Regions from separate parts of the Homo sapiens genome. Here regions 2 and 3 are each linked to region 1. The links are contacts of gene promoters, found by promoter capture Hi-C in blood cells and fetal thymus (Javierre and others, 2016). All regions are on one chromosome and are shown on one strand. The core of a region is centred on a gene start or on the middle of the fragment in contact, and the rest is flanking DNA. Distances in the headings are between cores, read along the strand shown. Region 1 holds the start of GK (glycerol kinase). Region 2 overlaps TAB3 (TGF-beta activated kinase 1 (MAP3K7) binding protein 3). Region 3 overlaps TAB3 (TGF-beta activated kinase 1 (MAP3K7) binding protein 3).

What was found. The method cuts DNA at HindIII sites, captures the fragments that hold promoters and counts their contacts. A CHiCAGO score of 5 or more calls a contact.
Region 2: a fragment that was not itself captured here is called in contact with the fragment with the promoter of GK in region 1 in 2 of 17 cell types (total CD8 T cells and non-activated CD4 T cells); the score reaches 5.3 in total CD8 T cells.
Region 3: a contact is called between a fragment that was not itself captured here and the fragment with the promoter of GK in region 1, in 1 of 17 cell types (naive B cells). The highest score is 6.0, in naive B cells.

The regions. Positions count from the first base shown.
Region 1 is chrX:30,652,137-30,655,828 of GRCh38, reverse strand. GK (glycerol kinase) reads right to left here and starts at 2,406. Exons shown (of 21, transcript NM_001205019.2): 1 at 2,214-2,406. The coding sequence starts at 2,291. RefSeq lists a silencer at 2,317-2,736. The HindIII fragment of the contact is 2,269 bases long and covers 762-3,030 here.
Region 2 is chrX:30,843,988-30,847,697 of GRCh38, reverse strand. TAB3 (TGF-beta activated kinase 1 (MAP3K7) binding protein 3) reads left to right here. Exons shown (of 11, transcript NM_152787.5): 8 at 1,054-1,147. Among named protein-coding and RNA genes, the nearest start is that of TAB3-AS1, 11 kb to the right of the region's middle. The HindIII fragment of the contact is 3,989 bases long and covers 258-3,710 here.
Region 3 is chrX:30,862,834-30,866,308 of GRCh38, reverse strand. The region is part of intron 4 of TAB3 (TGF-beta activated kinase 1 (MAP3K7) binding protein 3); the gene reads left to right. Among named protein-coding and RNA genes, the nearest start is that of TAB3, 25 kb to the left of the region's middle. The HindIII fragment of the contact is 1,792 bases long and covers 861-2,652 here.

The DNA.
Region 1 (3,692 bases), core at 1,157-3,656:
GTTGATCAAGTTCTTCTTCATTGATGTAGAAAGATGTCTTTTAGGCAACAAAACCTGAGGGACCAAGAACAACCTGTAGTGAATAAAGAAGATTGCTGGGCTACATGGACAGCAATAATGAACAGTCAAAAAGAAGGCATGGACAGTTCAAGCTGACTCCTAAAGGAAGCCTACAAAGTTATGAAATATTTTACCCATTTTCATATTGAGCAAAGGCTGTATAAACTTGAGAACATCTGCCATGCTTGGTTTGGCCCCCACAGTGCTTTATAAACTAATTGCCAACATTTAAGAATTGAAAGATTTCATTGAAAACTCTAGACTACCTGCTTTTAATCTGACGATCTGGCAGCACTGGGCTTGTGTTCCTGCTTGGCAGCTACTAGCTGTCCCCTTGACCTGGATATCTCTCTAGTCTGCCTTCCCCCTTCTACCTGCCTGGTCCCTGCAGGCATTTGTGTGGGCAATTCTTGAATATGGCTTTAAACATCAACCCACAGTTAGTTGGCACATGTCTTAATGGTCTTTCTTAAGTTGGGAAGATGATGATCGTGTATATTATGTATTAATCAAATCCAGTTAAGCAAACTTTCTTATGATTCAGGATTACTCTATAAACATTTCTATGAATATAAGACAAAGTGAAACCTGCCCTGGGTGATCAAAAGATAAACAGTGCAAGAGACAGTGGAACTATGCTTGGCAGCTCAAACCAGGGTAAGTCATTAAATAAGATTCAAACCAAAATTAGACTGAAAGCTTCTCACTTTAGACAAAAAAAGATATGTCAGGATCAAAGCACAAATGCAGTTTTTAGTCAAGTGCCAGCTCTGACAGAACTTTGAAAAAATATATACATTGTATGTATAATGCCTATGTATAAATATACACATATGTGTATATATGTACAGATATATACATACTAAATAACACAGGAAAACATGATTTGCGGTAAAGTGAAGAGCTAAATAATCATTAAATATTTACATCAACTTGCCAAGTTAGTCAAATATCCATTGAAAGCATGGGCTTTTATCAGCAGGCATTCATTTCAATTACTTTTATTTATTTTTTATTTATTTTTATTTTTTTGAGACAGAGTCTCGCTCTGTTGGCTAGGCTGGATTGCCCAGGCTGGAGTGCAGTGGTGTGATCTCTGCTCACTGCAACCTCCGCCTCCCGGGTCCAAGTGATTCTCCTGCCTCAGCCTCCCGGGTAAGTAGGATTACAGGCGCCCGCCACCACGCCCAGCTAATTTTTGTTATGCCAGGTTGGCCAGGCTGGTCTCGAACTCCTGACCTTAGGTAATCCACCCGCCTCAGCCTCCCAAACTGTTGGGATTACACGTGTAAGCCACCGCGCCCGGCCTCAATTACTTTTAAATTATCTTACTGAACTCTGTGCTAGGTCACTTTAAGAGCAAGTTTACTAATTGCACAAAAATTAATCAGCAGTCACTTAAATAGCAATCTTTTGTGGTAAAACTGTGCTGTCACACATGGTAAATAAAAAGAGAAACAGAATTTCCGTGTCGCATTATGCTGTGAAGCACAGTAAGGACAATCATTTGTTTGTAATGGGCAAAGTCTCAGAACTGAAATTTGCGAGTCTTCGGAATTAAATAAAGATTATGGCAAAACCAGTGTAGTGTGACTGTTTCCTAATTTGTTCTGCCACCCTCCCCAGTATTCAACCCTCTGCAATTTTTATGGGAGAGGATGACAACGCATCATCACTCCAATACTTTATTCGTTCTACTGCTGGAAAGGACGCTGTGTTAGCTACCACAGCCGTGACACAGCTTTCCCCCCATCCAAGGACGTCCTGTGTCTCGCAGGCCAAATGTTCCTGGGGAAGACCGCGGTAGCCGTCAATGTGGCCACCTGTCCCCTACTGCAAGCGGGCCGCTCTGCGCGGATGCTCGGAGAGTCCCTGCTCCCTTTGGGGGAAGAGTCACCCCATTAGTAGGTGACCCAGCTCCGCCACCAAAACTGCGACTGTTCAACTCGGCCATGGGGGTCATGAGAGGCCGAGGTCCCCCAGGCCTGGCTGGGGCATCCCCAGTGTGGCAGGTCCCGTTCCGGCCTCCCTCCTTGCCCAGCGGCCGGGGCACCGGGCCGGAGAGATGCGGGATGGGGACACAACAGCCACCCCCTCCGTCCCCCGACTCCCGCCCCGGCTCAGCGCCTCTTCACATGTCACCCCGGGCTCACCAAAAAGCGCGTCGAACTGGTGCCCTGGTCCACCGCCCCCACCAATGGCCCCAAAACTGCCTTCTTTGAGGCTGCCATGAAACCAGCTTCAGGTCGGCCGGCGATTGCGGCCGGTTTCCTGGGTGACGGCGGCGGGAGGGGGAGGGGCAGGTGACGAGTCCAGAGATCGAGGCCGCGCGCGTCCGCTGAACGCTCGGACCGCGCTCGAGGCGGCCCCTTTACCCGCGCGCAGCCTTCTCACCCCGCCCCTCCGGCCCAGGCCCCGCCCCCCACCGCGTACCCCCAAGGCTCCAGGGGCGTGTCAGGGGGGGTGGGGGTGGGCGCTGTCACCTGGGCTGGCCAATCAGCAAACGCAAAAGAGCCGAACGCTCGGACAGGCAGAGGGCGATGAGACGTCACGGGGGCGGGGCCTGGGCGCGGTGGAGGCGGCGGCCCGCGCAGTAGGTCACGTGGGGGCCCGGCGAGCGGACAGCAGAGCCATCCAGCTGCATGGCATGGGGCGGAGACGAGTACTGCCCTTTGGCAGGCAGCGCTCCTGGCCGGCGAAAAGAGCGCACTTCCACTAGTGTCCTGGGGCTCGCCTCCATAGGGGTCTCAAAGTGTGTAGAACTGCTTGTTCCCTCCAGTGGGCTGTGCAGAGTCGTGCAGCGACGTGAGTCGCTGTGTGGACCTACCCGGCCCGGCCTTCCCGCGTTTCCCACGCCCCGCCCACCTCCCTGCATCTGGCCCCTGGTAATCGTAATCATTCCTTTGGCTGGGATTGACCCCATATAGGGTCACCTCAAGGAGCAACGCGAATCCTTCACCGTTGCAAGCTTTTCAGGGACAAGAAACGCGGAAGTTCTTTCGGTTTAGCATTTAAGGAAAGCACCCAAAATCAACCTCCCCAAGTTCCTCTATCGACCATTCAGGCAGAAGGCGCCCGGCACCACTCCGTCCTGACGCGCCCTTGCTCCTCGTTTGGCCTCACTCTGCGGTCCCCTCCCCCACACGCCATTTCCTCTCCCTCCATTAACTGCTTTGGATGGCAGGGGACAGAAAAGGGACTCTCCCTTGACCTTGAATTTACCTTGCCCGGATCCTTCTGGATCCTGTGTTCTAAGGGCTTTCAAACTTGGAACCAAGACCCACACTGTGAAACAGTTTACAAAACAAACCCAGGCTCCAGTGTGTGTGGGCGGGGAGCACATTTGTAGTTACAATTGTTACACATGTAAATACATGTTATATACATCTAATATACATTTATGTATGTATAGAAAAACTTTCCAAAACAATATTTGTCCTTCCACAGTATGCATTCTGTATTTTTATTCTATGGCATATCATTTTTTTTTAATGCTGATTGAAAATCACTAAATTGCTTTTGTAACCCACCATGCTCTCTATCAATTTTAAAAGCACTCCGCTATACCCACTGTCATTTCTTTCCATCCCTTTCCCAAATCTCTGTGTTCTGGAACATCATTTCTTTTCCTT
Region 2 (3,710 bases), core at 1,003-3,502, 190 kb before region 1:
GTACATGTTTTTAACAGAATAGGATTTTGTTCTGTCTTCCTATAGTAGCAGATATTTAATTTTTCACTTTATATGTTATAGTTAAAATCACCCTAGTATTTAATACCTGGGCCGTGCTGAAAGCTTCAGTATTTCAGCCTCTAGATTCTAAACTTTGACTTTTTTACTATACATATATATGTATATTTATATATATACATATATATAAAAATAAAGAAATTAAGGATGACATGGGAAGTAAAGGCTTCCAAAAAGCTTTACTGAATAGAAGATTAGGACTCTCTTCACATTTCAGTGCCTCATATGTGCCCCTGAAAGGCCTAAGGAGTGGGCTGGCCTGAAGAGGTAGAGGCAGAAGAAAACAAAGTTGGGGAACAAATGGAATTCATTTGTTTCTGAAGTTTTCATGTGCTAGAGTAACTGCCTCCTTCAATCTAGAAAAAATATGACAAAAATATTTATATATGAATTTATATAGGAGTCTTTTATATAAATCCTGGCTCTACCAATTACTAGCTTTATAACTTTAAGAAAATTATATAACCTCTCTGTGCCTCAGTTTCCTCATCTATAAACTGGGCACAATATTAGTACCTACCTTAAAGGATTGTTAAGAAGAAGGAATGAGAGAATTCTGGTAAACACCGTACTGTTGTAATTTTTACCAGGCTGGACAAGACTAAGATCATGGACATGACTCGTTTAACAGGTTGATTCTTACAGTTTCCCTTACCATGAAAACATAGACACAAAATATTCTCAGTGCTCTATGATTAAAACGGTAGTATCTTGTATGGTAGAACACAGTCCACTACTGCAGCTCGCCACTTTATATGCAGATTTTGTTTATATGTGGCCATTTTGATGTCCCCATTTTACCCGACTATTCCTTTAAAAACATATACATAGGACTTCTTAAACATGCCCTCTTATGGACTAAGGCCGTATTCTTGGTAATACCCAATCATTACAATTAACATGAAACGCAGTTCTTAAATGTTGGGCTTGATAATGACTTTCCCACAATTGCTATTTTGGGTCCTTTCTTACTAGCCTGAGGAAATGACAAGATTGAGAAGCATGAACAGACAACTCCAGATAAATGTTGACTGTACACTGAAAGAAGTTGACCTCCTTCAATCTAGAGGTATAGACTTGATTATTTGGTAAACCATAAGTAATAGTGTGGTATTTTAAGCTGCTTAAATAGCAATAACTTTGGTTTTGTAGATTTAAGAGACAGTTTTTATCCGTAAGATTACAATCCTGGGAAAGAGATCCCCCTGTCCCATGGTCATGGATCAGATTTGGGGATGAAAAAATAGTTTTACTTCGGCAGTTTCATCAAGTTCTTATCATTTAGACTGTTCTATGTTGTTACTTTGCATTTATCCTCTTTTTGTCATTTACTGTGAATATTTTATAAATTGATGGGTTTTAATTCTAAAACTTAGTAGAGTTCATATTATGTGATAGACATCTAAAATATCTGTAAAAAGGGATCCCAAATCAGAGTATCAGATTTCTCAGTTTTAAAATAAACTCTATATATGTTATTTTTCATGTTATGTTATGTGAAAACATTCAACTATAATCATAGTTTTAGTTTTTTGGATTTTTTTACAGAAGTATACTACAGCAGAAGCTCTCTTAAACTTTCATTTACCCAACTCACCAGATTAGAGATGGTCTTCATTTTCTGTGGAAAATATACTGACTGATGTCCACAGCTGCTGCATACTTTTGACTAGTAGGCTGCATTCTGGTAGGCCCATGAATATTGCTCCCATCGGTTGAATTGTCTGCTTACCAAGAGTTGATTCTGTCCCCAAACCTGTTTATGCCAGTTATTGTATTTCTGCAATTTAATGTTTCATAAACTGACATGAAGGAGAAAGCCGCTCTTTCTATGAAAGCCAAAGGCAAATCACTCAAAAAATAGGGATTGTGAATTAGATATGGGTGAAAACAACTGAAAAAAGTCTAAAAGGATTCTGTACTCAAATTGCATTATAAGTGTTCTTAATATCTTTCTTGCTCCATTCTAAAGCAATCAAAATTATAGATGAGGGTTCAGCAAACTAGGGCCTGTTGCCTGTTTCTGTGAATAAAAGTTTTAGTGGAGCGATAGCCATGCCCATTTGTTTACATATTGCCTATGGTTGCCTTTGTGCTTCAACAGCACAGTTGACTACTTGCAACAGAGACTCTATCACAGGTCCACAAAGTCTAAAATATTATCTGGCCCTTGACAGAAAAGGTTTGCCAACCTCTGCTGTAGGTCATCATGGGTGTGGTTTATGTAAGAAATACAATATGGAACCCCAGCCAACAGACACGTAAAAATTAGGTCTTTATCTAACTAACTTTAAAATATAGCTATATACAAGTGTTTTGTTACGTTAAAGTTGACGTGTAATTTTTCTTAATTCTGTGTATTAATCAGCTTTCCTGCCCCCCATCCCCCACACTTAACTTTTCTTGATTATGGCAGCTAAGACTTTCTACAGTGTTTTAAGAGTATATAATAAAATATCTCACTGCCATTTTTAGGCAAGATTAAACAAACAGTAGGCTGGGCACAATGGCTCATGCCTGTATTCCCAGCAGTTTGGGAGGCCAAGGTGAGAGGATCACTTGAGCCTAAGAGTTAGAGACCAGCCTGGGCAACATAGGGAGACCCCATCCCTACAAATAATTTTTTAAAAATTAGCTAGGTGTGGTGGTGTGTGCCTGTGATCCCAGCTACGTGGGAGGCTAAGGCAGGAGGATCACCTGAGCCCAGGAGGTCAAGGCTGCAGTGAGCCGTGATCACACCGCTGCACTCTAGCCTAGGCAACAGAAGGAGACTCGGTCTAAAAAACAAAGAGCGAGAGATTAAAGATTAGTGGCAGGTGAACCCAAAAGACACGGCATTATCTGAACAACAGACAGAAGCAAATTTGAATGTGAGAATTGAGCAATCTAGTCAGGTACCCTTAAAGTCATTTTCAGAAGCCTAGTCACTCTATAGCCCACTAACTTGAAGCAATCAAAGAATTACTATGCATGATGTAGGGGTTACATAAACTATTGCTACTATATTTTAGAAGATTGCATCAATTTCTTTTACTTGTGTGGTCTTTGGAGCAAAACAAACAGTAAAACATTTGGTTAGGATACTTATAGTAAGCCTTTTGTGATCTAGAAATTAGAACATGAGCTGTAACAAGTAATTGAAGAAATACATATGCAGCTTCTTAAAGCATAAAAAGATTCAATTAATACATCAAATAGCACTGTGGCTTTTATGAGCTATCACAGCAATTATTTTCAGAAAATTATCTTAAAACAGCATATTCAAGTGGATAAAACATTTGTGAAAGGGCCTGCAAGGGAAACCACTATTAAGGTTTTATAAGCAAAGAGCTGTGTTTTTTGTCTGCATTGGACAATGAGCTCTTTGGGATACTTAGGCATTTCTAAATCTCTTTTCATAACGAATCTAAATGTATCCATTTTATACTAAATTCTACTCTTCCACACTGCAGAAAACTTTTTATACTGAGTTTCCAATCTAAACTTTTAAGCTAGGGAAGGAATCTAAACCTTTTTCGGTGGTGACGGGGGGAGGCAGGGGAATAAGCATTTAGAATAGATGCAAATCAGTGCATGACTTGATGAAAACCAGCTTTTTTGTGATTTTTGGTAAGGAAAACTTGTTGGGAAAA
Region 3 (3,475 bases), core at 507-3,006, 210 kb before region 1:
GTGTATATAGTCTATATATTTATGCATATTTATAAATATTTTTATGTATAATTTTAATGTGGCAGCTAACATATTCTTTGTGGGGGGTGTTAAGTTTAAATTAAATATGAATCTATCGTTTCTGGAGGCCATATTTAAATTGAAAATGTTTTTGTGGATTATTTTAATATTATTTCAGTCTCATAGTATATCTCTTGAGACTTACAGAATATGAGATAGATGCAGTGAATATGTGACTATTTCAAAATGGTCTCTACTGTAATAAAAATCCTATAGGATGACTGTTTCATAAATTATTTAGAAGGCTTATTTAGGGGAAATAATAACTATCGTATTCCTCTCCCCCTTGTTATTTGGTAGCACCTTTACATATATGCATGAAAAATCCTGAAAATGGAACTCTTATCTCTGCCAGTAAAAGACCATTTGTTATGCCTCAATATCAGCCACTTTTTGTTACTGTTTAACTTGAAGAATTCACACTGTAGTACAAAAACTCTTCTGTTTTAAAAGCAAGGTTTGCTTTAAACTGTTGTTAAGAGTTATGACATCATCAGAGTCTTACCAGGTAGCCAGTAGTACAGAAGAATAATGGTTAAGAGCATAACCTTAAATTTGTATCCTAGCTTTGCTACTGGTTGACTGTGTAACCACAGGCAATTTATTTGCCCTCTCTGAACTTCAAGTTTCCTTATTTGTAAAACGTGGATGATAATATTACCTCTCTCATGGAAGTATTTTAGGGATTAAATGAGGTAAAGCACTTAGCACAGTACTTGATACTCAGATACGGCTCAGTAAATATGATCTAAAATCAAAACCTCCAAAGCAGCAAAAAAATAGATGAAAGTTTGAAAGCTTTATACTCATATACATACTGTGTTTTGTTCAACAATTATTACTGGACCAGACCAACCAGAAAAATTAATGATTCTTTTATTTTGCAATCCTAAAAGTTCTCTCAAGACAAGGCTAACTTTTCTTCAAACCTGGGAAATGCTCACTCACCTCATTACCTTAATATGCTAGCAGTGGCTGTCAGCCCAAGAAAGTATTGCCTCTCTAGAGGCCACTTGGGGGTGCTACTGAGATTTTATGGGCGGGGCCAGAATGCTAAATACCTTTCATTGCCTGGGATAGTCTTGCATGACGAGGAATTCTTGTGCTCCAAAATTATTGCATCAATAGTATGCCGTTGAGACACACTAGAGTACACTGATACTTACCATTGTATCTTTAAACCTTTCTGCAGAACACATTTCAGGTGTCACAAACCCAGCAGGTATCTAGATGAGTGAAGCAAGGCCAGGCTGCAGTGTTTGGAATCAGCTACGGAGTATAGGAACTAGGCAAACTGTCCTTCCTAAAAGGGGAGTGGTGCCTTAGTTTCAGCCAGTTGTTGCCTGCAGTTGCTAGATCACGTGATTTTTCAGAGAAAAGCTAGATATGTACATTTTTATGTGATGTCTCCCAGTTTTAAATGTAGCTCAACTTTAAAAAAAAAACACACACACACACACACTGTGATGGCCAAACCAGGCAGATCTGTGGGCTGAATTCATTCCACAGACCATTGGTTTGCAACCTCTGATATAACTGTTTCAGGAAGTGACCTAAAATTCTGACAGAGGTAAAACACTCTGGGCCATAATGGCACCACCCTGTTTATTTGCTGAGCTCAGGAAAAACTGTGGAAACAAAGCACTAGATGTCGACATCATTTTCTAGAGTGTGGGGAATTGTGGCATTAGAGCAGAGCTCTGGGGGAGCTTCCTCTCTGATTGGGAGGAGCAATTCTGTTGGGAGACATCCTAGCAATTGATTTTTCAGGAACAGAAACCACTGTGCCTTGTGTTACCAGCAGTCTTGAATTAGGGAGGTGGCTGCACCACTGAAGGAAGCCTCTGATTCCACTGCTAAGCATAGCATCTGGGCCCCATAGTCTGTCTTGCCTTTAAGAAAAGAATCCTCACAAAGCTGACATGCAATAAAGGCTTAAAACTCTGCAGAATCTCTTGGTTCATGTGGCCCCTGAACTGTGTGATGATCATAGGGTTTATGTCTTTAGTGTTTCTTCTTTCTTGATCTAGGGTTACCGCCTACACAGCTCCACAATCCACAGCTGTGGCCATCTGGACTTTAGTGGGGGTGTTTCAAGGGTGTCCCAGGAGTTTGGTCATGCCTGAGCCTAGCCTGTACAGCTTAGATACTGCTTGAGTCCTCTGTCTGGCTTTAAAGTGACAAATCATCATTCAGCACTTATTGTATAAAAAATAGCCCATTATAATGTTAAGAAACAAACTCAATGTGTATTTTGCTTAGTAGTTGTTGCCTACATTGATATATTTGGACAAGAATAGATTATATGCTTTGATCTGCATGGTAGCCACATCTATAATATGACACTATATGACAGTGTTTTCATTTTGTTTCTATTGGATTAAATACAAAAGTACAGCATAATACTTTACTGTAAAACTTTGTGTTTTTAAAGGAAACTGACTATATTAGGCCATTCTTATGTCACTGTAAAGAAACACCTGAGGCAGGGTAATTTATAAAGAAAAGAGGTTTAATTGGCTCAGGATTCTACAGGCTGCATAAGCATGGCACCAATATCTGCCCAGCTTCTGGTGAGAGCCTCAGGAAGCTTACAATCATGGCAGATGGTGAAGCAAGAGCAGGCATGTAATATGGCAAAAGCGGGAGCAAGGCGGGTGAGGGAGAGGTCCTAGAGTTTTAAACAATCAGATCTTGAGTGAATGGAACAAGGACTCACCTAGGATGGTGCTTAACCATTTACAAGGGCTCTGCCCCTATCATCCAGTCACCTCCCATCAGGCCCCAACTCCAACATTGGGAATCACATTTCAACATGAGATTTGGAGGGGACAAACATCCAAACTGTATCATTGACTTAATTTATTGGCTGGAATATTTTCTGTTTGTAAACAGAAAGCCTCCCAGTGAACAAAATGGAAGTTGCTTTTTTAAAGTATTTTAACATGATATAGTTATCAAAAAATTAAGTTTGAGAGTGTTATATATTACTGTGAAATACTAAATGATTATTCATGTCAGTTAGCGCTGATGTGAGTGAATGTTTGTACAGGGCAGAGTGCTAACCACTATTAAGATTACATACATAATCCCTTAAGAAGGATATGTGTTTACCAGTTTAGATTCCTATTTGTTGTGAAAAGTCAGTCTACTATTAATCATCTTTTCAGATGGTAGCCATTTTTGTAAGCTGTTGGCTTCCATTTGAAAGATGCTTTAACATGTTTCTTCAAAGGAAAGTATTTATAACCATTTTTTAAAAAGGCATTTTCTTCTTGTGTGTTTAAACAGCTAACTTATTTGTACAAGAATTATTTTTTCCTTCCCTCTCAGTCTTCCACCTCACCACACACCTTTAGCTCCCTATGTGAATGATAAACTTAATGAGGGTTTGCTCCTTAGCCAGTCAAAGAAA